Linked DNA regions of Homo sapiens: all the other regions are linked to region 1. Evidence: promoter capture Hi-C in 16 types of primary human blood cells and fetal thymus (Javierre and others, 2016). All regions are on one chromosome and are shown on one strand. Each heading gives the region's core, a stretch centred on a gene start or on the middle of the fragment in contact. The rest is flanking DNA. Distances are from core to core; before and after follow the strand shown.

What was found. Contacts are between HindIII fragments. The CHiCAGO score rates a contact against its expected background, and 5 or more counts as called.
Region 2: a contact is called between a fragment that was not itself captured here and the fragment with the promoter of GNPTAB in region 1, in 1 of 17 cell types (neutrophils). The highest score is 5.7, in neutrophils.
Region 3: a fragment that was not itself captured here is called in contact with the fragment with the promoter of GNPTAB in region 1 in 1 of 17 cell types (neutrophils); the score reaches 6.6 in neutrophils.
Region 4: a fragment that was not itself captured here is called in contact with the fragment with the promoter of GNPTAB in region 1 in 1 of 17 cell types (neutrophils); the score reaches 5.7 in neutrophils.

The regions. Positions count from the first base shown.
Region 1 is chr12:101,826,899-101,833,857 of GRCh38, forward strand. GNPTAB (N-acetylglucosamine-1-phosphate transferase subunits alpha and beta) reads right to left here and starts at 4,061. Exons shown (of 21, transcript NM_024312.5): 1 at 3,661-4,061. The coding sequence starts at 3,777. RefSeq lists silencers at 3,193-3,487, 3,844-4,243. The HindIII fragment of the contact is 15,537 bases long and covers 1-6,959 here.
Region 2 is chr12:101,633,875-101,640,548 of GRCh38, forward strand. It overlaps MYBPC1 (myosin binding protein C1), which reads left to right. Exons shown (of 32, transcript NM_002465.4): 9 at 680-731; 10 at 2,798-2,854. Among named protein-coding and RNA genes, the nearest start is that of MYBPC1, 42 kb to the left of the region's middle. RefSeq lists a silencer at 1,098-1,187. The HindIII fragment of the contact is 6,229 bases long and covers 1-4,633 here.
Region 3 is chr12:101,651,118-101,658,294 of GRCh38, forward strand. MYBPC1 (myosin binding protein C1) reads left to right here. Exons shown (of 32, transcript NM_002465.4): 16 at 114-276; 17 at 1,561-1,667; 18 at 1,998-2,131. Among named protein-coding and RNA genes, the nearest start is that of CHPT1, 43 kb to the right of the region's middle. The HindIII fragment of the contact is 1,258 bases long and covers 2,064-3,321 here.
Region 4 is chr12:102,030,571-102,037,199 of GRCh38, forward strand. The region is part of intron 5 of WASHC3 (WASH complex subunit 3); the gene reads right to left. Among named protein-coding and RNA genes, the nearest start is that of WASHC3, 28 kb to the right of the region's middle. The HindIII fragment of the contact is 1,314 bases long and covers 2,735-4,048 here.

The DNA.
Region 1 (6,959 bases), core at 2,811-5,310:
GCATTTTTGTGACCACTAGTCCCCATTCTGAAGGCTCTCCCTGTGGGAGTTGTTTTTTTTTTTTTTTTTTTTTTTTTTTTGAGACCAGGTCTACCAGGCTGGAGTGCATGGCACAATCACAGGCACTGCACCTCAAACTCCTGGGCTCAAGCAACACTCCTGCCACAGCCTCCTGCCTCCTGAGCAGCTGGGACTACAGGCATGTGCCACCACACCTAGCTAACTTTTTTTATTTATGTATTTATTTTTGAGACAAGGTTTCACTCTGTCACCCAGGCTTAAGTGCAGTGGTGCAATCACGGCTCATGCAGCCTCAACCACCAGGGCTCAAGTGATCCTCCCACCCCAGTCTCCCAAGCAACTGGGACTACTCTACTTTTTTTGCAGAGATAGGGTTTCGCCATGTTGCCCAGGCTGGTCTCAAACTCCTGAGCTCAAGCAATTCTCCTGCCTCGGCCTGCCAAAGTGCTGGGATTACAGGTGTGAGCCACCACGCCCAGCCTTTATTTTTATTTTTTTTTGTAGAGACAGGGTCTCCTTTGTTTCCCAGGCTTGTCCAACTCCTGACTTCAAGCAATCCTCCAGCCTTAGTCTCCCAAAGTCCTGGGATTACAGGCATGAGCCACCTCACCCAGCTTGTTTTGTTTGATACTTCCTTCCCTCAATTCTACTTCTCGAAGTTTGGATGAATATAGAAAAGGCTTATCAAAATACAGCATCAAATACCTGTTATATTGAGAGGAGGAGACGATAACAAATTTACAGTTAACAATGATCTTCTGAGGGCCAGGCACAGTGGCTCGCACCTATAATCCCAGCATTTTGGGAGGCCAAGGCAGGCGGATCACCTAAGGTCCAGAGTTTGAGACCAGCCTGGCCAACATGGTGAAACCCTGTCTCTACTAAAAATACAAAAACTTAGTCTAGCGTGATGGCGGGTGCCTATAATCCCAGCTACTCCGGAGGGTGGGGCAGGGAAAATTACTTGAACCTGGAAGGTGGAGGTTGCAGTGAGCTGAGATCACCCCACTGCACTCCAGCGTGGGCAAGAGTGAGACTCTATCTCAAAACAAAACAAAAAAAACAATGATCTTCTTAGTCCAAAAGGACTTACAATTAGTGAGCTTACAATCCATTACAATTAGTGAGATTATTAACAAGTTGGTAATATTAACTATATGATCAAAGTATTCTGATTCAAGGATATATTTCAAAATAAGGTTTAAGGACATAAAAGAGTTGATAATATAATAGCAGCAGTAGCCATGACCATTTAATGAGGGTCTGTTATGTAGTAGGAACTGTGTGAGGTGCTTTACATACCCATCTTATTTAATCCTCATCAACCCTGCAAGGAAGGTAATCTGGCCTCCATTTCAAAGATAAGGAAGCTCAGAGAGGTTAAATATCCTTCCCAAGATCAGACAAGGAACAGCCTGGGCTGTTTGAGAAACCATAAAAAGGGGTGCTCAAGAGCACAGCTTAGGCTGGTCGTGGTGGCTCACGCCTGTAATCCCATGGGAGACCAAAGCAAGCGAATCATGAGGTCAGGAGTTCGAGACCAGTCTGGCCAACATAGTGAAACCCCATCTCTACTAAAAATACAAAAAATTAGCCAGGTGTGGTGGCACGCACCTGTAATCCCAGCTACTTGGGAGGCTGAGACATGAGAATCACGTGAACCCAGGAGGCGAGACATGAGAATCACGTGAACCCAGGAGGCAGAGGTTGCAGTGAGCCGAGATTGCGCCATTGCACTCCAGCTTGGGTGACAGTGTGAGACTCCATCTCAAAAAACAAACAAAAAAAAAAGCACAGCTCTGAGCCAGCCTGGCTTGGTTTGAAGCCCAGCTCTGCCACAAATTAGCTGGATTCTAATGCAAATGCATCCATTTCATCACCTATAAAATGGTTATAATAATAGCACCTATCCCACAGGGGTGATGTTGTGAGGATTAAATCAGTTAACATATGTAAAGCAATTAAGAGAGTGCCTGATACCTGTTAAGACCAATATAAGTATTAGCTATTATTATGATCATTATCAACTGGAGTCAGCAATCAAGGCCAAATCTGCCTAATCATGCAGCTCCTCTTTTCCATTATGCCTTACAAGTTAACCACAGGCCAGCTGCCTTCACCTCTCATGACACCTGTTGGCACTGTCTGCCTCTCATTTCTCTTGTCTGTTCCAAACCTTATGATCTGTGGCCATTTCAGGACTGCAACAAAATGTCTCTCTTTTGGTAAACAGCCAAGCATGGAATGAAAGCAAAAAGAAAAGGATATAAAATGAAAAATTCGGGCCAGGTGCGGTGGCTTACACCTGTAATCCCAACACTTTGGGAGGCCAAGGCAGGCAGATCACTTGAGGTCAGAAGTTTGAGACCAGCCTGGCCAACATAGTGAAACTCCATCTCTACTAAAAATACAAAAATTAGCTGTGCATGGTGGTACGCGCCTGTAGTCCCAGCTACTCAGGAGGCTGAGGTAGGAGAATTTCTTGAACCTGAGAGGTAGAGGTTGCAATGAGCCGAGATGGAGCCACTGCATTCCAGCCTGGGCAACAGAGCAAGACTCTGTCTCAAAAAAATAAAATAAAATGAAGAATTCTAACACCTGATGCCTTTAAGTCATCTTCACACTGCATGGGACTTAATAAACAGTTAACTCAAAATTAATCAAGGCCAAAAAAATCACACAAAAGCAATAAGGCACCTAACTACACACAGATACATTAAGTTGCAACACATGAAACAAAGACGAGCAAGTACTATAATATTAAGTACATATTTCACACTTACAAATCTGGAGCTTTCTCACCCTTATGGTAAGACATTTTTTCCCAGCCTCTAGAACCAAGAACTACTAAAAAAGTACATGCTCAGAATTCATGCCATATAATTTAGCCATTAAACAAACACTTGCACTGCATTCTCTGGCAGTACCTGGCACTGTGCTTGGGCCAGGGTTACAGTATTTACAGACAGCACCTTCTCTTACGGAGCTTACAATCCAGCATGGGTAAAGACTTCAAGCAAATGTATACTGTGGCATTTCTAAAAACTACTCTGTTAAATTTTAAAACCTTTTGTAACCTCCTACCAAAAAAAAAAAAAAAAAAGAAAAAGAAAAAAACTAAAACTAAGGAACAGATTTCAAACCACTTAAAAATACAGCTTTCCTCCCCGTTGCTAAAAGTGGCTTTCTTGGGCCAGGTGCGGTAGCTCATGCCTGTAACCCCAGCACTTTAGAAAGCCAAGAAGGGAGGATCACTTGAGCCCAGGACTTCCAGACCAACCTGGGCAACATAGGGAGACCTCCGTCTCTATTTTTAAAAAACGGTGGGCGAGGGAGCAATATCTAAAATCACATACATGCCTTTTTCCAGTTCTGACTTGCTCATAGTCTCTGCACACGTTTATGATAAAGAATACTGTATTTGGCCGGGAGCGGTGGCTCACGCCTGTAATCCCAGCACTCGGGGACGCCGAGACAGGGCGATCGCCTGAGCTCAGGAGTTCGAGACCAGCCTGGGCAACATGGCAAAACCCCGTCTCTAATAATGAAAAAATACATACTGTATCGGGGCATCGCGGGGCACGGCGAGGGCAGTGCAGGGTCGAGGCGCCCGGTCCAGGCTGCGGCGCCGCTACTCACCTCTCCGAACTGGAAGGCGGAGACGATGGTGACAACGACGCCCAAGAAGCACACGTAGAGCCCATACCTGTGGGACAGGCAGGTATAGGTCTGTCTCTGCAGGAGCTTGAACAGCATCACCCCTTCACCGCCACGCCACGCCCCGAGGAGCCTGAGCCGCCGCCGCCGCCGCCGCCGCCTCAGCGAGCCGCCATTCAGGGGCCCCGGTCGGGCCGCCGCGCGCAGGTCACAGCCTCCGGGCGCCGCTCATTGCAGCTCCGGCGACGGACGCCCGCTCGGCTCCGCGCCGCGGCCGCCGCTTCCGGGAGCCGGGAGCCCACGCCCTCGGCGCGGCGGAGGCGGACCTGCGGCCGGCGAGGCGGCCGGCGCCGCCCGGGTCTGGCCGGGCGAGAGGCGGCTGCGGCGGCGGCGGGGTCTCCAGCGCCACCTGGAGGACGGAGGGGCATAGGGAAGGTGCGCGCCCTCCCCACCTGCGCTTGCGCAGCGGGCCCTGAGGGCTGGGCTGGGAGGGGCGGAGCTGAGCTGGGATCCACTTACCCGGTTGGGCAGGCGACCAAGAGAAAACTGCCCCCTGCGTCGAGACTGTGCCATAGACGGTACTATAATGCCATGAATATTTTTGTGCATAAAACCTTCTCTGCACTTAGCATTCTCTGCAGAGTGCTAAAAGGAGATGCTGTATGTGGCTCCTTTCCTCCAACCCCCAACTATATTGTTTGAAAGAGGAAACCTTTGGGTTAAATCTGCCAAAACCGAATTTCGTTCATTCATTTAGTCGTTAAATATGTAATTTGTGCCTGTTAGGTGGCATAGTGCTTGGTGTCAGGTATTCAAAAATGAACTAGACCTGGCTACTGTTCTCAGAGAGTCTAGTGGGGGAGATAAACATGTAAACCACTAAATACAAGAGTTGTTATGATAGAAATCATGCGATGAACTGGAGGGGAACCAGCTCAGGGGTGGCCAGGTAATCCGACTTTGACAGCAGGTTTTTCCCACGAGATCCTTTCCTTGGTGCCTCTGATTTACGAAAGGGAGATCTTTTTCTTAATCCCAATGCACCCTAGTCAATAAGATTTTTTTCCTAGTCACCCTGGGAAACAATACACTTATCTAATGTTGCCATCATTCAAAGCATTTTTAAAAATATCTTGGGAACCAGCTTCAGGAAATACTCAAATTCGCACCCTCAGTTTGATGGTCAGGTGGAATTAACAGACTTGCAAAAGGGGTTAGCTTCACTCCAATCCAAGGCAAGATTTTTTACACTTTGCAGTCACTTCTTTTAATCCTTCTTTTAAAAAAGATGATTGATATATGCTATATGTACATGGCAAAAGATTATTGCAGTTGTACAAGACACATATAGTTCTGAGGTCTTTTCAAGCATGATAACAGATCTGAGGACTTAATCAGAAGGGGTAAAAAAGCATGGTAACAGATATAAAAACATCTGCCACTCAACAGGACTCTCAGGATAATGGCCAACATTTATGTAGCATCTGCCATGTGCCCAGCTCATCTAATCCTCACAATAATCTTATAATGGAGATACCATTATTATCCCCATTCTACAGATCAAGAAACTGTGATGAAAAAAAGTAACTATCTAACATCACACAAATAGTAAATGACAGAATTGAGATTTGAACCAGGTACTTAGGCTGTAGAACAGGGCCAAGATTAGGGGAAGGTACTGTGAAATGAGTCATGCAAGTTTGGAGTGAGATTCTGTCTTTGTTTATAGTTTTGATATCGGGGCTGGGTGTGGTGGCTCATGCATGTAATCCCAATACTTTGGGAGGTCAATGTGGGAGGATAGCTTGAGCCCAGGAGTCTGGGAGCCCAGAAGTTTGAGACCAGCCTGGGTAACAGACCCTGTTCCTATTAAAATAAAAAAAAAATTTAAAACGTAAAATAAAACATAAAGTTTGGGTGTTTTGCTTTTCATGGATATTCTTCAGTAATGTTTTTTGTTTTTTTTGTTTTTTGGGTTTTTTTTTTTTTTTTGAGACAGAGTCTTGCTCTGTTGCCCAGGCTGGGTTGCAGTGGCGTGATCTCAGCTCACTGCAACATCCGCCTCCTGGCTTCAAGCAATTCTCCTGACTCAGCCTCCTGAGTAGCTGGGATTACAGGCACATGCCACCACCCCCGGCTAATTTTTGCATTTTTAGTAGAGATGGGGTTTCAGCATCTTGGTCAGGCTGGTCTTGAACTCCTGACCTCAAGTGATTCACCTGCCTTGACCTCCCAAAGTGCTAGGATTACAAGCATGAGCCACTGCGCCCAACCATTAATTTTGATTTTTTAAAAATATTGCATTAGGCTGGGCACGGTGGCTCACGCCTATAATCCCAGCACTTTGGGAGGCTGAGGCGAGTGGATCACCTGAGGTCAGGAGTCTGAGACCAGCCTGACCAACATGGAGAAACCCCATCTCTACTAAAAATACAAAATTAGCAGGGCATGGTGGCACATGCCTGTAATCCCAGCTACTCAGGAAGCTGAGGCAGGAGAATCACTTGAACCCGGGAGGCAGAGGTTGCGGTCAGCCGAGATCGTGCCATTGCACTCCAGCCTGGGCAACAAGAGTGAAACTCCATCTAATAAAAAAAAAAAAAAAAATATATATATATAGCATTAAAATATTATTCCTCTTGATTAGTGAGTTTTTTGGAGTTCCCTCGGATTTTCCACCCAAGACAAGTGCTTCACTGTCCTCACTTTAGTCCTAGCCTTGCCTAGAACCTGTCCTTCTTAAAAAGTATGCTTTGTTGTAGTATGAATTACCCTTAAATTTTTCCTTTATCTTTAGGCTCCAACTAGACAGCCTCAAGGGAGGTCAGGAGCATTGTCTAAGTCCTTTCTTCTAGAGAACTTGCTCTTGTTCACTCCCTTTTCCCCCTCCTCAGGCAGTATGGTTGAACTTAAATAAAATAAATGTGGGTGCAATATGATATACCTGTAGTAGCTACCTTATACAGTTAGGAGGGTTATGTAAAATAACACATGAAAATGCTCAAGTGCCTGCGACATTTTTAGTGTTGGAAAAATTTAAGAAAATTAACATTTAGCCTTGTTCTGAAAGCAATGAGGTTTTCAGCAGGAGAATTAACTGATTAAATATGCACTTCAAGAACATTAGTAGTATGTAAATGCATAAGTTGTGGAAATTATTTTTTTAAATTTTTTGTAGAGACAGGGTCTCACTATGTTGCCCAGGCTGGTGTTGAACTTCTGGGCTCAAGCAATCCTCCCACTTTGGCCTCCCAACATGCTGGGAGCCACCTCACCTGGCC
Region 2 (6,674 bases), core at 269-2,768, 200 kb before region 1:
TGAGAAGATCACCTGGAGGGCTTTTTTTTTTTTTTTAGACGGAGTCTCGCTCCTCTCTGTCACCCAGGCTGGAGTGCAGTGGCGCGATCTCGGCTCACTGCGAGCTCCGCCTCCCGGGTTCACGCCATTCTCCTGCCTCAGCCTCCCGAGTAGCTGGGACTACAGGCGCCCGCCACCACGGCCGGCTAATTTTGTTCTTGTATTTTTAGTAGAGACGGGGTTTCACCGTGTTAGCCAGGCTGGTCGCGATCTCCTGATCTCGTGATCCGCCCGCCTCGGCCTCCCAAAGTGCTGGGATTACAGGCGTGAGCCACCGCGCCCGGCCCCTGGAGGGCTATTTAAGAATATTGATTTCTGGGTGCCCCTCCCTGATCTGGTGGATCAACATCTTTGGCAGAGAGGATCAAGAAACTGATATATTTCTAAGTCCCTCAGTGATTCTAGTGGGCAGACAAGTTGAATGACACCTGAACAAGGTGACCCCAAGGTCCCTTCATTGGTTCTTCATGAGGGAGGAGGAGGTATGATGAGGCCTTGGCAGCACAGCCATTCAGGAGAAAAGCCTCCCCCCTTCACCTGACATTCTTCCATCTAAAGAATCCCCACAGCCTATAAAGGAACTGAACACAAACTACCTCCTTAATGGGTATTTATGTTATTGTTTTCTTTCCTTTCAAAGAATCTACTGGGACTACTCCAAACATTGACATCAGATCTGCTTTCAAGAGAAGGTAACTCCAAAAGAAAAATCTAGATAGCTTTTGTATAACACAGAAGTGGAGGATTTTCAAACACATTTCCTTTCCCCTGTATTCCGTATTCCAAATACGAACAACACTTTTCACCGCAAAAACACCATATATTTAAACATTGGTGTTCTAGAAAAACCATGGGTTTAAGGCCCAGTCAAGCATATACTGACCATTTTTTAGAATGTTCTTGTTATAAAGAAGTTCCTGTTTTGGAGGTTTCACAGTTGCCTTAGAAAGACACTTTCAATTTATTCATATGTAGCTTCCTCCTTAAAGCATTACTTTCCACCAAATGGCCAAAAGAAATACGCAAAGAGACTCATTTCATTGGTTAAGTCACGGCAGAAAACTTTTATTTATATTGCCTTTCATCTAGAAATCACTCAGGGAGCTACTGAACCATGTGCCCAAGAAAACCACAACCAAGTAGCTACTTACTGAAGTTAGTGCCATATAATATTGGATTATCCTAAATGAAACTGGCATTAAGAATACTACAGAAAGGCAAAATTTAGATACCTATTTCATATATTTTTGCAATTACCAAGGCTGAAAAATGGAGGGGGGGCGGTCAAGGAAGAAATGTAAAAGATTTTTGGTCTCTGAGAAATATAACCAGCCCCTTCCTGTCATTATGTTATTCTCTGTACTTAATTATTCCATAATATAAATTCTTTAATGAGACCAAATGTTTTGTTCTTCCGAAGACTGAATCCACATACAGAATCCACATACAGTTTTGCTGAATAAGGAAAGTCACTCCAAACTATTATAAAACAATAATTTAGCCTGTTAATGAGGCATATTTTCCTCTGATATTATAAATAAATCAAAACTTTAATTACTTTGAAAAGTTATTTAATATTACTGGTATTAGGTATTTTTTAATTTTAAAAAATGTCATAACTTTCAAATTTTATTACTTTCCTTCCACTTTCCCTTCATCCCATGCTCAGCAAATGCACAGGTCTAAAACTATGCTCATACTGTATACAAGTATATCTTAGGAGAGGGAAACATGATCTACTAAGTTTTGAGCTTTAAAAGAACAGAAATGTATTTACTTCAAAAGGCCTGCAAACACCTGAAGAAATTTTGAAAACACATTACTGAGTTTAATTCTTATGACTTACATGTTATACACACTGTTTTTAAACCCACAGACTCTTTTCTTAGAAACCATAACTAACATTTGTAAAGAGCAGGAAACAAAACTTCCTTAAAAAATTAAACATGTAAGTAACTATGTAGTGCCATTTAAATGTTAGCTCTGTAGCTTCTGGTTAGAGTTTATATGAAATCACAGTGGTGGCTGCATGCCTAATTTAAGATGCATTTCTCTACAAGAAAGCACTTTTTTAAACTGCTAGTAAAAGTTTCATTAACAATTCAAGACAAATTTTTTTAAAACATATTTAAGAAGGTATAAATATTAATAAGAAAATTAGAATAATTATCACCCTTTAAGACAGAAAGGAATGCATCTTTTAAAAATTTCTGTGTTAGCTCCTTTTTTATTTTTGCCATGTTAGTATCACATTATCTGATTCATCTGTTCATGGACACAAAGAGGTTACCATTGAATATAAGGCTTTGTACTTATATATCTGACATTGGTACACTTCGTCCTCCAAGCCAATCTCTGTCTTACATGAATAACAGAGATCAGCAAAAGTTCTTTGCTTTTTACATAGGTATGTTTCTACAGCCCCCAACTTGCAAAAACAAAGTACTTTGTGTTGCTTGGCTTAAGTGCATTTGTGTTACCTGGTTTTAACACAAATCCAAGCAGTTTTATATATGCAATCTACAAAAATGTGTCTTCTGAAATCATAGCGTAACACAAGCTCCTCATATGTTTACTTTTCCACAAGTACATACTCCAAAAACTTAACATGTCACTTGTGTGAAAAGAAATAGTTTGTGTTGATTTAGTCCTTGTGTGGCACAAAATTGCATATACGTTACATGTAGAGTGTTTGGGGGAAATTGTTGTGTATGTCTCTGCATTAAACCCAGATTTGCTTTTCTTTTGTTAACGACAGTGGAGAAGGTCAAGAGGATGCAGGAGAACTTGACTTTAGTGGTCTCCTGAAACGTAGGTGAGAACAAAGTGATGGAGTGAGACATTGTGGCCTGGAAGTCTTTCAGACACCCACTCAGAGAAGTCAAGTTTAAAGTGGATGTTCTTCAGAGAATTTTTCATTTCTGAAAATGTGTTTTGCTTATAGAATATAACAGAGTTGACTAGAAAGAGAGAAACAACTGCATACTAATCTTTTAAAGCCTTTAACAGTTGCTTTTAAACTTTCTTTTTAAATGTTTCATGACTCTTCACCTATTTTTTTTTAAATGGGGACGAAGAGATATGAAAACTGAGACATAAGACAAATACCTAGAAACCTCTAAGACTGCACATATGATTTGGTAGAAGTCTGAAGGTATACACATTGTAAGAGGCAGACCTACTTTAATGTATTATTTATGATGTACTGTATTTCTGCAAGTCTAAGACACCACTGCTATTAAGATACACCAGCACTTTATAAATCACTAAGCAATGAAAAAATTGTTCCAAATGGTTTGACACACCATTGATTATAAGATGCATTGTCATTTCAGAGGTCTTTAAAATGCCTCAAAAATGTGTTTTAGAAGTGACAAAATGGAAATAAAAGTTTAGTATCATCACACACTGACACTTTTCATTGTTCTCTCCTGCAATAAAATTTATAGGATTTCATTATGGATACTTAGAACATAACCATTTTATAAGATTTCTCTCCATATATATTTCTATAACTGCTATACTCTTCACTAGGATTCCCTATATATATACTATATTATATGCCTGTTATAGATATCTAGATATTTACTATAGTGCAGAAGCAACAAAAAGAAACACTTTTTTTCTGAGATTATGTTTTATCTAGCAAATTTGTAAATAAACAGAGTAAAACTATAATTTTAAATTAATTGTATATAATATCAGTTTTCATTTAACTTTCCAGGCTTTTAAAATTACTTTTAGTGCTTTCTATGGTTATTAAAAGACTACAAGTACAAATATGCTTCATAACAAATTACAAACACTTGAAATATACTGGGATTGTGTTTATTCTCTGTTTAGTTAGATAGCTGTATTGAAGTCTCTGTAAATGAAAAATTTACCCCTATCCCTCAACATGTAGGTTGAGAACAGAAATATTAATGGGTGTGATTTATTAATTCCTGAGGGCTATTAGCCCATCAATAGACTACTTCAAATAACCATTAGTCTCAATAGTATTGATTAATTCCCCAAATGCATTTAAAGCAATAGTATATGAAGTGCCCTTAAGTGAGCCTCACGTTTCCTCATTCTACAGATAAGAAACCAAGGTACAGAGACAACAAGTGACTTATCCCAAGTCACACAGGAGTTAGAGGCAGGGCCAGGACCCAAACCCAAGTTTCCCTTTTATGAGTCAGCTCATTTCCTGTGACTCCATATTAAAGATACCACTCTGAATTTGCCTTGGAAGCTGGCGCTTCAGTTTATAACACAAATTGACACTTTAGGAAGACAAGAGAGCTTTGTATTCTCCCTGCAATCATTTACTCAGTCAGGAAAATACTAAACACTGTCTTTGCGTAGAATATAATGCTACTGATGTGAGGAAAAGAAATCCAGTGCCTGGCACATAGAAAAGGATAGATACACTTTTGTGGGAGGAAAAATAGTGGTAAAAACATGGACTGGAGTCTCAGCTCTACCATTTACTAATTATGTGACTTTGGTCAAATATTTGACCCCTCTGAGACTTGGATTTCACATCTGGAAATGTGAAGAATAAACACTACTTAATAGAATTATTGTGCAAATTAAATTAAGTGTAAAAAGCTTGGTTCACAGTAGGTGGCAAATAAATATGTACTTCCTCTAAGGAAATGTGTCATTTTCTCTAACATAGTTTATATTCATAAGGAGACAACACACAAACACATACACAATCAATCAACAAAAATGTGATACAGTAGATTATTAAGCACCTTGCTCTGATTAAAAAGGAAAAAAAGAAAGAAAAAAGAACAGACTTTTTCAACCAGTAATTCCAGAATAAAATAAATCTAATTACATAGTCAAAATGACAAAATTTAAAAATCACTTAATGGGCAGCCAACATGTCTCCAGTTCTCATTTTCTTTTATCCCCTGCTTAAGATTTGCATTCATAATTAGATTGTTGTTAATATAAGGCTATGTTATGTTCATTTAGTATACTATACTAATCCACTAATATAACTTTAGAAATCATTGTGTTTTCCTACTAGTGAGTTGCATGCGTTTTCATTGCGGTAATGACATATGGTTACCATTTCTACTCCTCCAAGTGTGTGTGCCAAAATCCCCACAAGAAAAAAAAATATGATTAAAACCAACATCTCTGTACAACGAAAGATCTTCCTGCTCTGAACAAAGCCAGCTTACTTCAAATAGACATTAGCTAAATCAGATTAAATCTTTTGGGCAGCATCCTGTTATAGGAATTGACCTGTATAAATACTTGTAAGTTGTACTCTACATAAAATTTCTATAACTGTTATACTCTTCACTAGGATCACCAAGTTATTGAAATTTTGATGTAGATGAAAATACAGTGAGTATTATACAGGTCTATCCCGAGGCTTGGAAAAGAATCAGAAGTGCCTACAGAAATTTGGCTTTTTCTCCTCACTGTAACTTAACATAGCCATGCAGACAGGGTCATGTGCAGCCACCATGGTAAGTAACTAAAGATATGTTCCAGGTGCATTAAGGAAATGCTGGAGGTGAGAGCCTTGACCTCACATTTCAGTACAAGATAGATGCTTCTCTTTACGATTTGAGATACAATTAAGTAATGGAGAGAAAAGGAAGGAATAGGCAAGAGGTCATTGGTGTTCTTATATGAAATTTGATATGACTAAGTATGTGATAAGAGTGGAGAGTATCTTGGCATTTTAATGAAAACTGGTGAGGATGATTGGTTTTATAAATCTACCAACAAAACTGACTCAGGAAATCACACTCAAAATTATCATCTTTATTACTGGTTTCCTTCATATAAATATTCACCTCATGGATCTATGTAGGACTCAGTGACTTGTGCCTCTTGTTAGCTATTTTAATTATATCTAGCTTGATAGCTTTAAATCCTCCGCCAATGTCAGGAGGATAGCTGAAATATGTAATGTATGTGTGCAATTCTTCATGGTTCAAATACAAATTTAACATAATCCAGTATGGCATAATTTTATAGTCTGGGGACTATATTTAGGCTGGAATGTGACAAAAATAGAGCACTAATAATCTAGATTGAGGGAACACCCCGCAGAAAATATATACATATGAACATACATATACATCTTTTTTGGGTTTTTCTTTGAGACAGGGCCTCACTTTGTCACCCAGGCTGGAGTACAATGGCGCAATCTTGGCTCATTGCAGCCTCGACCTCCTGGGCTCAAGCAATCCTTCCACTTCAGCCCAAGTAGCTGGGATGACAGGCATGCGCCACCATGCCCAGCTAATTTTTGTATTTTTTGTAGAGACGGGGTTTCACCATGTTGCCCAGGCTGGTCTCGAACTCCTGAGCCCAAGTAATCTTCCCACCTCAGCCTCCTAAAGTGCTGGGATTACAAGACTGAGCCACTTCACCCGGCCTATACATATACATCATAATTGTGACTCTCCTAGACTTCCTACTAAAATATTTAAAGGATGTATTTGAAGTGTTTACTGTTTCCAGGAAGTAGATTTAGTGGATCTGGCAAATTATTACCAATATTCCAATTTCAGGACAATTTTCTTAAGCTTTTCGATTTTCTCATGTTAATAAAGGATGTAGCTGTTATTTCAGTGAGATGAAGATAATGCTTGTGTCTTGAGTTTTTAAGAGGC
Region 3 (7,177 bases), core at 1,443-3,942, 180 kb before region 1:
TCACTTTCAAAACAAACATTGTAGTAGAGCTCACTATACCATTGTGAAATGCCACCATCTTGGCCTGTTGGGAGTTTGGGCTTGGCATTTGTGATGGTCTATCATTTCTACAGTGAAACCTCTGAAGATTTTGACACCTCTGACTGATCAGACTGTAAATCTTGGAAAAGAAATCTGCCTGAAGTGTGAAATCTCTGAAAACATACCAGGAAAATGGACTAAAAATGGCCTACCTGTTCAGGAGAGTGACCGTCTAAAGGTGGTTCACAAGGGAAGGTAAGCGAGCCAGGTGACCCGCAAGTGAGGTTTGGTCCCATTTCTACTTTCTCCATTTTCTAAATTACATATTTGGTGAGGATATTTGAAGGGTAGCCATAGGGAGATCATCTATTCCTGATTCTTCGCTTCCAACTAGCAAGAAGGTGTGATTTCTCTGTTGTATAGCATGTCCTACTCATAATCCTGTATCTGTACCTCACACTATGGTACTTTGTCTATTCAAAATCCATTGACTCTTTTTCCATTTAAACATGAAGTTAGAGGCCAGGCACCATGGCTCATGCCTGTAATCCCAACACTTTGGGACGCCAAGGCAGACGGATCAATTGAGCTCAGGAGTTCAAGAGCTCCTGGGCTACATGGCAAAACCTCATCTCTACAAAAAACACAAAAATTAGCCAGGCGTGGTGGCATGCACCTGTAATCCCAACTACTTGGGAGGTGGGAGGATGGCTTGAACCCAGTAGGGGGAGGTTGAAGTGAGCTGAGATCACACCACTGCATTTCAGCCTGGGAAACAGAATGAGAGACCTTGTCTCTAAAATAAATAATAAACATGAAGTTAGAGGAAAAATACTGAATTCTAATTGAGGACCTGATCAAATGGATTAACCGTCTCTAACCAATAAGTGTCACAATGCCTTCCCACAAATCTTTATTTGCGTAGGGGACATAATATCCTAGAATCTGGCAAAGATCTAAGGCAAGAGTTTAACTTTGAATTCATGGGCTTTTAGGGTATCATAAATGAACTTTAGGAAGCCCCATAACTCCTGTGAAATTGTGAGAAAATTCTATGTGTACAAAAATACATACTGTTTACACAGAAAGGATTCATAGTGTCCATCAGATATTCACTAGTTTGTGACCCCAATAAAGTTAAGAGCTATTGTTCTTAGGGTTTGGGATGTAAAGCCAAAATCAAGATTATTCTTGGCATCTCTTGAATCTTAAAGTATAGCATTATTGATATGTTCTATTTTAGCCTTTTTAAAGCTATGAGATGAAAAAAAAGAATAATAGACTCTGCATATACAATAAGCAGATTCTATTTGTGGAGATAATTCCATATAGTCCAAAATAAAGATTTAATTTGAATCAATAAGTAGGATAATTAAGGCTTCTCATCCTCTCTCTCTCTCTCTCTCTTTCTCTCTCTCTCTCCCTCTCTTTCCTGCACTAAAGAAGTTAATCAGATAAAGGTCAAGTGTCTTTTCAGCTTGGGTCATATATAAACTAGATCTTTGGAGTCTTAGAAATACATTTTCCTTGTTTCCTTAGGATCCACAAGTTAGTGATAGCCAATGCCCTCACTGAAGATGAAGGTGATTATGTATTTGCACCTGATGCCTACAATGTTACTCTGCCTGCCAAAGTTCATGTTATTGGTGAGTAGATAAAATAATTCATTGCATAGTTGTGTTCTTTTTTGTTTGCTTTTGCTTACCATGGAATTATAATATATTCAAAACTAAGTGACATTTAAGGAAAAATACATCAATTGGTATTAATCACCAATCAGAAAGATTGGTGACTTATACCAACACCTTACAATAAAATGGTTTTGCAAGGTGCCAGGCACCAACTATCTTGACTCCTCTTATATTCTTTTTGATTAGATAAAATATTGGTTACTACCATCATACTAGCCAAACATTAGTGCAGATATTTACACAGAAATGACTGTCTGATAACAAAGACTATGCTTAATATTCTAGATCCTCCTAAGATCATCCTGGATGGTCTTGATGCTGACAACACAGTGACAGTGATTGCAGGAAACAAGCTTCGTCTTGAGATCCCCATCAGCGGAGAACCACCTCCTAAAGCCATGTGGAGCCGGGGAGATAAGGTTTGTTTTATGCTTGCACACACTCACATGCACACACACATATGCAGACACACTGCCTACCCCACCCCTTGCCCTCCATTATTCAGATGAAGGTAGAAAACAAATAAATGTACAGCAGTACAGTAAAGATGTAATTCCTTTGAAAAAGAAAGATGACTGATTTTCAGGCAAATCTGATCATCATTAATTTACTTCTCATATTTCTGACTATTATGTAGCAAAGCATGTTTTGATGCACAGTGAAAAAGCCTCATTTTTATTCTAATGAAATTGGGGGGATGAAAAAGAAAATGAATTATTAAATAAATAAATGAACAAAGTCACTTTGGATAGTAATAAGTACAAGAAGATAATAAAAGAGAATGATACAATAGCAAGTAACTGCATAGTCAATGGCAGCCTCTGTGAAGAACAAGGAACCCATTATGTGAAGATCAAACGGAAGACATTTCCATACGGAGGCAATTACAAGTGCAAAGGCCAAGGGGAGAGAATAAGCCTGATGTGTTGGAGGAACAGAAGGAAAGCCAGCATGGCTGGGGCAAAGTGAATGATTGGGAGAAATGCAAGTGAGGGTGAAATGGTAGAGTAGTGCCAGCTCAAGTGTGACTCCGTGGCTTTCTACAAAAATAAAAGCAAAAAAAGAAAAATTACATTTAAAAAGAAGACATGAGGCTGGGCATGGTGGCTCATGCCTGTAATCCCAGCACTTTGGGAGCTGGGGCAGGCAGAACACCTGAAGCCAGGAGTTCCAGACCAGCCTGAGCCTGCATGGAGAAACCCCATCTCTACTAAAAATACAAAAAAATTAGCCAAATATGGTGGCAGCATGCCTCTAATTCCAGCTACTCAGGAGGCTGAGGCACAAGAATTGCTGGAACCCGGGAGGCAGAGGTTGCAGTGAGCCGAGATCACGCCACTGCACTCCAGCTGGGTGACAGAGTGAGACTCTATCTCAAAACAAATTTTTTTAATGTTAAAAATAAAATTAAATAATAAAAAGCAGAATGAGACTTCTACTTTCAACCAGAATTGAATAACAGGAACCAGATTTACCTACTCACTTGAAATAACCCCCAAAATAGACAAAATATGTGAACAATGGGTTTCAAGACATTGGACATCAGATCGTGAAAGACAATGACTATGAAATATGATAAACAAATGAAATAAGCCCTATAATTGCCTCAAGCTTATTGCCATAAAAGAGTATCCAGGCAGTGGCACAAGGAAGAAAAACCTGGACAGAACCCAGTGGACTCCCTAAGTTTAGGACTCCCATTGTACAAGGAGACCAAGGCAGCTAGAGTTCATAGGATACATACTATACATACTGGAGGAGAGAGCTGCACAGAGAGTCCCCCTGGAGCTCTGCAGAGGAACACGCTCAAGTATTCAGCAAAGATCAGTGCACATTTATGAGGAAACTACCCAAGATTCAAGAAAGGAACATATGAAAGGATTAAAGAGAAGTGGACTGGCACTCACACAAGGCCAATAGTAGTGCCTGTTCCCCCTAGCTAGACATGAAAACCTCATCATTCACAGTGCATTGAGTAGAGTACTCAGGAAAGCCTTGCCTTGGTTGCAGGAATAATTAACCCTAGACTGAGCACTGTCATGGACCCACCTAATAAGTCATAAAAACAAGTCTAAAAGATTCAATCAATTTCCAAATAATTTAATTGCATTTCAAAACAAAGCTCAAGATTTATATAGGAATACAAAAATATCAAGCACCCAACATGACAAAATTAGCAATATCCTGCCATCCAGTCAAACATTATGGTAGAGAAATAAGCAGGAAAACACAGCTCAAAATGAGGAGAAAAGTCAGTTACAGCCAATTCAGATCTCACATGTAAATTAGAATAGCAGTCGAGCATATGAAAATAGTTATTTTAAGTGTATTCCATATGTTCAAAAAGTTAGGTGGAGAAATGTTAAGCTCTCCATTTAAATTAAATTTAAGAGAAATTTAATAAAATAAAATAAAAATTAAGAGAAAGTTAAGTGAAAAAAGTGAACTGAAATGGAAAATATAAAAAGATCCAAATCTAATCACCTACAGATGAAAGCAATAAAATGTCTCAGATAAAAAATATGTAGATGGAATTAATAGCTAATTAGACATTGAAGGCAAATTTGAAGACATAGCAATAGAAATGATCCAAAATGAAACACAAGAGAAAAAGTCCAAAAAAATTTAAAGAATCAGTTAGACTTCAAATTTTCATTCGGGCATGTAATCAGCTTAGAAGTTGCCACTCTATCCTAACAAGTAAAAAGCTGGACAAACGGAAAAACTAGCAACTCCTCTTACATATGTCAGAGAAGTGAGGATACAGGGCAAACTGCCAAAATGTGAGAGTGGAGTGACACATTGAAAGTGTTCAGGGTGAAAACCCACCAACCTAGAATTCTGTACCCTCTGAAATTATCTTTCAAAAGTGAAGGAGAAATAAAGACTTTCTCAGACAAACAAAACTTTAGGGAATTTGTTGCCAATGGATCTGTCTTGCAAAAAAATATTAAAAGTTGTTCTTCAGAAAAAGGAAAATAATATAGGTCAGAAACTCAGATCTACATAAAGAAAGAAAGAGTATAAAATAAAGAATAAGTGAAGGTAAAATAAACTTTTTCATTTTTTCCTATTCTCAGTTGATCTAACAAATAATACTTTGTTCAAAATGATAAAAGCAACAATGTATTCAATTAGGTATGCTTATATAGTTATATTTATGTATTTTATATATAAGTGAAATGAATGACAGCAATAATACAAAAAATGGGAGAAAGGAATTAGGGACATTTCATTATTTTAAAGTACATGCACTACTTGTGAACCACTGTAGTGTTGTTTGAAAGTGGAGTTGGGTTAATTGTAAATATATATTGTAAACTAGGGAAACCACTTTAAAAAGTTTAAAAAAGAGGAAGTAAAATTAATATGCTAATAAAGGAGAGAAAATGAAATCACATAGAATGCTTAATTAAAACCACAAAAGGCAGAAAAAAATGTAGAAGACAATAATAGGAACAAAGAAGAAGGGCAACCAATAGAAAATAATAACAAATATGACAGATATTGATCGAGCTATACCAATATTTACTTTAAATGTCAATGGTCCAAATATACAAATTAGAAGCCCAAAATTGTCAGAGTAGAGCAAAAACATGACCCAAAGATATGTTGACTATAAGAAACCCAGTTTAAATATAAAGTTGCATCCATTAAAGTATAGGGAGAGAGAGAGACATGCTGTGCTAAGACTAAACAAAAGAAAGTATGAGTAACCATATTAGCTTCAGACAATGCAGACTACAAAGCGAAGAAATTTATCTGGAATAGAAATGAGCGTTACATAATGATGAATGGGTCAATACTCCAAGAAAGCCTAATAATCCTTAACATGTATACACCTAACAACAGAGCCTCAAAATATATGAGACAAAAACTGATAGAACGGCAATGAAAAATAGATGCATTCACTATTATAGTTGGAGATTTTGACATCCCTCTATCAGAAATGGGCAGATTCAGCAGACAGAAAATCAGTAAGGACACAGCTGAACTCAACAGCACTATCAATCAATTGTATATAAATAACATCTATAGATTACTTCATCCAATAGCAGCAGATTACACATTCTTTTCAAGCACACATAGCATATTCACCAAAATAGAACACATTCTAGGCCATAAAAACACCTTAACAAATTTTTAAAAATAGAAGTCATATAATATCTGCTCTCAGGGACAATGGAATTAAACTAAAAATAAATAAATTACAGAAGTGAAACTAAAAATCAATACATAACAGAAAAATAGCTGAAAATCCCTCAAATTCCTGAAGATTAAACAACACACTTCAAAGATGAAATCTTAAAAGAAAATTTAAAATATATTGAATTAAATGAAAATACAACATATCAAAATGTTTAAGTTGCAGCAAAAGCAGTGCTTAAAGGGAAATTAATGGCAATGATTGCATATATTTAAAAATAAGAAAGACCTAAAACCAGTAATCAAAGTTTACGTGTTAGAAAACAAGAGAAAGAAGAGTAAATTAAATTCAAAGTAAGCAGATAAAAGACATGATACAAATTAGTGCAGAAATAAATGAAATTGAAAACTGGAAATTAATAGAGAAATTAACAAAAGCTGGTTCTTTGTAAATATCAATAAAACGTATAACCCTCTAGCCGGGCTAAGTAGGATAAGAAGAGTCAAGGCTAATTAACAGAAATGAAAGAGGGACATTACTACAAATCCCATGGACATTAAAAGGATAGTTAAGGAATATTATGAACAACTCTATGCCCATAAATTTCACAACCTAGTTGAAATGGACCAACTCCTTGAAAGATACAATCTTCTAAAACTCACACAAGAAGAAATAGGCAATCAGAAAAGGATTATCTCTATTAAACAAATTGAATCAATAATTAATAACCTTACAAAACAGAAAGCAACAGGCCCCAATGGGTTTGTTGGTAAATTCTACCAAACATTTAAGAAAGAAATTGTGCCTTAATCTCTTTCAGAATGCTTCCTAATTCAATCTATGAGGTCAGTTTTATCCTAATATCAAAACCAGAAAATTTCAGACCAATATCTCTCATAAATGTAGATGCAAAAATTCTAATGAAACATTAGCCACGAGGTCAGGAGATCGAGACCATCCTGGCTAATACGGTGAAACCCCGTCTCTACTAAAAATACAAAAAAAATTAGCCGGGCGTGGTGGCTGCGCCTGTAGTCCCAGCTAGTCGGGAGGCTGAGGCAGGAGAATGGCGTGAACCCGGGAGGCGGAGCTTGCAGTGAGCCGAGATCGCGCCAACACACTCCAGCCTGGGCGACAGAGCGAGACTCCGTCTCAAAAAAAAAAAAAAAAAAAGAGCAAATCAAACCCAACAATGTATGAAAAGAATTATACACCAAGACCAAGTGAAACTCACTCTAGGTATGCAATGCTGGCTCAAAATTTGAAAATCAATTAATGTAATCCACTACATCAACAGGCTAAAGGAGAAAAGTAACAT
Region 4 (6,629 bases), core at 2,142-4,641, 200 kb after region 1:
GAAAATATTTGGTAAACAACTAGTTCCTGGAAACAAATTATTCAAAAATGAACATTTTCACAGCAATTAAATGTCACTAAGGATGGCTATAATAAAAAATGTGATATTAGTATTAAAATATTCTCAGCTATATGATTATGACAACAGTGGTATCAGTGAAGAATAAATAGATGAGAATTGAGGGAGGCATATATAGTATTACCAAGTAGGTACTGACATGACAACCATATAACTATTTAGTATCTGCCCACTACATGGCCAGTACTTCCTTCACTCTTCTAGCTTTATCACACACCAGAAAAAGCAAGAAATTTAAAACCTGAACTTTTAGCAGTATCATTGCTTACTGCCCTCTAACAAACATTTATAACAAGAAAATTTAAAAATATGCAAAAGGGCAAATACATAATAGGCAGATTTAATGTCGTTTCAACATTAAATCTGTACACAGTATGACTGGTTCTAAGCTCCCTAACTTTCAAGGCAACATGGAGGGTTCAAAAGGCAGCTAAAATGATGGAAAAATCCTAATCTGTAAAACTGGCATAATCATTCTTCACACATGATTTCTTTAGAGGCCAGTTCACTGACTTTAGCAGAGAGTAATTTTTGAAATTTCTTGTCAAAAGTATGACAAAAGTTATCTTTCTCTAGGTCCTCTGTATACTGGGGCCATGGCAAAGCATAGGTAATATGGCAGGGGCTTCCAGTTGGTGGCTGTCACAGTTTTCTGCTTAAGGGAAAACTCTATCCAAACCTTGATGCATTTGATATAAGCTAGAAAGTAGAAGGAGGAGGACAAATGTCAGAGGTCACTTGAATCCCAATTATCCCAACTCAAAGTTACTATTCATATAGTTTACTATTTTGCTAAGCTTTGCTTCTTTCTTTTAGTTGTAGTCAGACCTGCCTAACTTACTTAGTTCATGGGAAGAATAAAATATTTTTACTTAAAATTTTCAAAGTTGGCTAAATTATACAATTAATTAAACAGATAAATGTTCATTTGTATCTTTTCTTTATATTCATAAGTGTGGCAAATCAAAGTCATTGGTCATGAAGCTTTTATTTTTCAATAAACAGAATGAGGCTAAAACAACACAAAAGTTATTCCCCCATCCCACAAACCTTCATGTACTCAAAAAATACTGATCTTGATATTGATTAGTAAACCTTAGGTATTATAAAAGAAATGAAATACATATTAATATTATACCTATAGTTAAAAAACAATGAAAAAAGAAATCACATCGTTATTAAGCTAAATCTGTAACAGTGTTTTTCACAGCTATGATTATGTATGAACCAGTAGCTCCTCCTTTTTGACTATACTTTGACTATACTGTTGATCACTGATGAGGAAACTACCTGGAGTTCTCTAAACCATGGAAAGCCACATTGGGGTCATATCCAAAAAATGTTTTAAAGACTTTAATTACTCTTACAATAACTGTATCTTGTTTGTCATCTAAAGAACATGCTACTTCATGCTTGACTGGTTTCACAAGGTCCAAGGTGCATACCTTCTTGATGGACATCTTTAATAATCATTTAGAAGCTCCTCATCCTTAGGTAATGGAAGTCACATTTCCTCAGGCCAACATCCACCACTGGCAATGGATGCATCAGAACCACCAGAACCAAAGAGATTATTCAATTCACATTTTAAGCCAGCCAAAGAAAATAGAGCTTTAAAAAAATCTAAGTGTCTAAGAGACTGTTTTGGCAAATATGGTTTCAAAAAATACAAGTCATTAGCTTCTTAATGTGGAAGTCGGACTTGCCCAATGCACAATTTATTACTGGCAGAGGATTCACCATGATCTGCCAGTAAAAAGGGGAGAATTGTTGGAAAAGTGATCTATGTACACAATTCCAGTTAAGTTATAAAAGCAATATGTAATTTAGTAAAGGCTTGTGCTGCACTATTATGACAAACATTAAATCAAAATCAATTATCTGCCACATTTGGAACACAACAGTATTACTCACTGAAAAATCTTGTATAAAACTTGGTTAAAAAGGAAAAAAAAGTCAGAAAATGCCAGCAGGTGTTCCAGGAACATTCATTAGTAATGAGATCCAAATTTGGGGATCAATTAATAGATCATAAATCTAAAAGGAACTTCAGATCTCATTTTATGTATGAGGGAACTGAAGTCTTGAGAGGTGACATGACTTGATGTGATGGCAAAGCTAAGAAACTATACCATGTTGTATTCCAGAAGTACTGGGAAAAGATCTGGGTGTATTCCTAGGCAATGAAATTTTCTCCCAGAGAAAGAACAACTTTTCTTTCATTGTTTTAATCTAATCATTGTTTTATCTCTCAGAGGGTAGTAATCCAGCAGTGACAGAAAAAGGCATGGAGACCAAAAAACAAGGTATTACTTATTACTCTGTCAACTGGTACTTGTGATTAGTGAAGGACTGTGTTGGTTTTTGTACAAAGGAGTTTATATTGATTAAATAGTTTTCATTATCTAGACTGTAAAATAGATTTACAGGTATGTGGCAAGTGAAGCAAGGCACATATAAAAGCAAGGCATTCCAGGCGATAGTTAGTACCCAGGAAGAGGGAGTTTTCATGGCAGTTTAGAGAGGAAGCCAAAGGGGTCTGTAGTTCATCCTGATATCCAGGAAGTCTTAAAATCAGGAAAAATCTGTTTTTGTAACCCGCAAGACTTTCATTCATATCTGAAGTGAATGATCACATCAGAAGTCTGCAAATTAAAGCTTTCTATGCTACAGAAGAAGCTGAAAGGTCTTGAAAAACACAATTCTATCCTATTACAGAAGACAAAAATCGTTCTAAACAATAATTAAAATAGTAGGAGAAATGATTAAAAGATTGTTGAGGAGCTATGTATCAAGATGATACTGAGTGAAAGTATATTACACTTTGGAAAAAGAAACTCAGTATAATTGTAATAGAGGTATTAAGACTCTTCTTATGGGGCAGTAACTAATATTTTTAAATGACAAGAATATAAAGGCAACTGAAAAGAGACAAATCCTATTATTTCCCTTTCACAAGGTGAAAGACCTTGTGGCACTGTTAATTCCCTTTTGAATGCATAGAGATGGTTATTCTTAAGATCTTAGGATTAGATATTGTTGGTATAAAGGATTAGATATTGTTGGTATAAATACAGTTTTTTTTTTCAGAAAGAGTTTTTTTTTTTGAGACTATGTCATCTTCCTTTGTGTTAATATAAACAATTCCCTAAAAGCTGACATGTAGGCTTCTAAAACTGTTTCTATAAGCTGTAGTCATATGTACAATGGATGGTAAACTACTCAAGGTCATACTAATGGACAAATTAGAACTCATTTAAAGAATTATGTTGTTATCGGTCTTTCTCTGCATTAAGAACTAAAACTGAATTTTGAGTGGTGGGTAAGCAAATGTTAGTCACCCCTAAAGTTGAGAAAAATTAGGTATTTTAATACATATCTAAAATCTTGTTGGGAAAGTGAAACACTTTTCAGTATGATAAGGTAGTCTGTAATGAAGTCACCCTCTAGAATTAGCTGGGGTTAGGCTCCTCCTTATAGCCAGTGGTCAAATTTGCTTTTTTATCTATATCCCCCTGAACCCTGTTTGTTCTCAGTTATACTCAAAGAATTGAACCACATTTTCAGAGTGAACAACTGATTAGAAGACAAACACAGAAAATAGGAAGGCATATCACCATCCTGAGGTATAGAGATACAAAGCTATCTGTATTCTTTCCATGTCAATGACAGAAAATGAATGGTTCAATGGTACAAATTATAATAGGTCTCTCGTGATTGTTCTTCACTCCACTTCTCTGAGGCATTTTCTAAAGCAAAGTGGTACTGTTATCTGCTCTTCCAGTTAAAAGTTATAATTTGGTAATGGAATGGATATAGGAAACACAACTAGCTATGCAGATACTGCTGAAGAATAATATTTTAGGTGATAACTTATGACATTAGAATGACTGTACTCTTGGAAAAGTGCTAAGTGGTTTGGAAGAACCAAAAGATTATGTTGACATAATACCCACAGGTATGTTCAAGAAGCTTTACGCTGAAATCAAAAGATTAAAACATCCTCAGTTAAAATTTTAAGACTAGACCTACGAATAACAATAATATAATAGGGAAAAAACAGTGGAATAACTGCCAGGAAATTATTAGGAGGAAAATGTAAACAGCAAACAAATCCAATAGCCTAAAAAAAAGTGTGTGTGTGTGTGTGTGTGTGTGTGTGTGTGTGAGTATGTAAATACAGCAAATCTGAAATTTCAAAATAAGTAAATCTTGGGGACTGCTAACACTTAATGGGAAGAAACTTGTGTATGAGAACTGGCATTTCAAAGAAATGTCTTACAATGTTTCCCAGCAGAAAGAGGACAATAACCGTAAATCAAAATATATACACATATATGGAAATTCTTGAACATGAGATAAAGAAACCCCTAAGTGAGGCTAAAAGAAGGCAGAAATTTTATCAGATGGGGCATACTTTTTAGCTACCTAGCCGGATGGAAGATTTAGATAAGGCTTTCTTAAAACACTGTAAACAAGCAGAAAGATACAGACATGACGGGGGATATTATCCATCTACAGGTACTAGCAGCTTAATTTTGCCTATATTAGAATACCTGATAAATTCCTAAGTTGCCCCACTGAAAATTTAATTCCTCAATAAAGGGAGCAATGAGGCAAACATGCAACTATTTGCGCCTAAGTTTGAACACAAAGGCCAAAATAAATGATAATGAAGAAGGGACAGGAATTCTGGTAGTGATTATGCCAAGGAAAGAAAATTCCTGGGCATTGTCAAATGTGTAGCCTACATCTGTTGTTGGAAATTTTGACAGTCACTCATGATATGCTTAGAAAACAGAAGAAGAAGGAGTGAATTTATAGATGGTTCAATAATCATAATCCAAAAAATAATGATTGGCAGATTCATGTCAACCTTGAGGAAGACCTCTGCTGGGTCTATTCTTGTTTTAGTCCTGAAAAATATTTTAAATTGATAACTTGAAGAAATGAGAGCATATTTATACATATCCAGGTAGCACAAAGTGAAGAAGGAGAGATCATATGCAGGATTACATATAGAGTCCATTAACAAATATTGATTGAGCACCTTTATGGGTAAGGTGTTAAAATGAATACACGGATTAATCAAGATACCATTCTCCCTCTCATGGTTCCATTTTCAACTGGAGATACAAAAATATGTACAGATAATCATAAAACAGAGTATTAAGTGACAAACTCCAGGAAGAATACCGGTAAAGTCATTGGATAGGTCAACAAAAGGAGCTATTACTTCTAGCTTTACGTGTGTTGGTGGGTTTAGAATCTGGAATGATTTAGTGGACGCAATCGTAGGAGCATGTTAGATAACAGAATTTGGACATGCAATAATAAAGAGAAAGAGAATCTGGATTCAGAGAAGGAAAAGCATGGAGCTTATATAGGGAATGGTTTGTGGTTTTGTCTGATTAAAGAATGGAGTTCAGGGCTGGGTGTGGTGGCTCACGCCTGTAATCCCAGCACTTTGGGAGGCTGAGGCAGGTGGATCACCTGAGGTCAGGAGTTCAACACCAGCCTGGCCAACAGGGCGAAACCCCGTCTCTACTAAAAGTACACAAATTAGCTGGGTGTGGTGGCGGGCACCACCTTAATCCCAGCTACTCAGGAGGCTGAGGCAGGAGAATCGCTTGAATCTGGGAGGCAGAGGTTGCAGTGAGCCGTGACTGTGCCCCTTTGCTCCAGCCTGGGTGACAAGAGAGAGACTCCGTCTCAAAAAAAAAAAAAAAAAAAAATCCAATTCAGGACAGGGAGCAATAGGAAATAAAAGTTGGGTAATAAGGTTCTGGGATGCAGGTTGGCACAATAAACTAAAAACAATAAAATTAAATTTAACTTGGATGAACTTCTAGTTTTAGGATGGCAGTTTGATGTAGCTCCCCACTTTCTTCTTGAAAATCACCCCTAAACAATTCGAAACAGAATATGACCTCCAACTTTAATGACTAAGAGGCATATATGAACCAATTACATAAAAATTAAGAGCAGATAGAAGAATGATTGATGACTTAGCAGAGCAAAAGAAGGTCAAGTCCATGTGCCTGAAGGAGGAGATGCCAGGAAGAAGCAGCCCTTCCAGAATGCTGAAAATGCTTAGGAAATAGATATACCCTCACCGAAGGCAGAAAGGAGACAAAGGGCTAACAACAGAAAAATTTGTCTTAAATCAGAAACAGTCTGAGGCAGAAGAAATTGAACCCCTAATCATACTCAGTGACATCAAGCAAAAAGGATGGGCTAGAGTTAAGTGCTAAGTACTGCTAGAAAAAAGTTAAGGCTTTTTAAAAATAAAACAACTATTTATTTTCTTAAATGCTTTTAAATTTAAAAAATGTAAATGATATTAAGATATAGTTTAAAAATATTTTTAAGCAATTCTTAATCAGGAGTTTTTTTCCAAAATACATATGCTGTATGTACCAAGTACCAACTCTAGAGATTCTAATTTTGTAGGGTAGGGCCCAGGAACTTATATTTTGGAAGTTTCTCAAACCACTGAGTTAGTGTGAAAAAGGAGTCCATCACCTAAACCTATCAAAAGGTGAAATAGT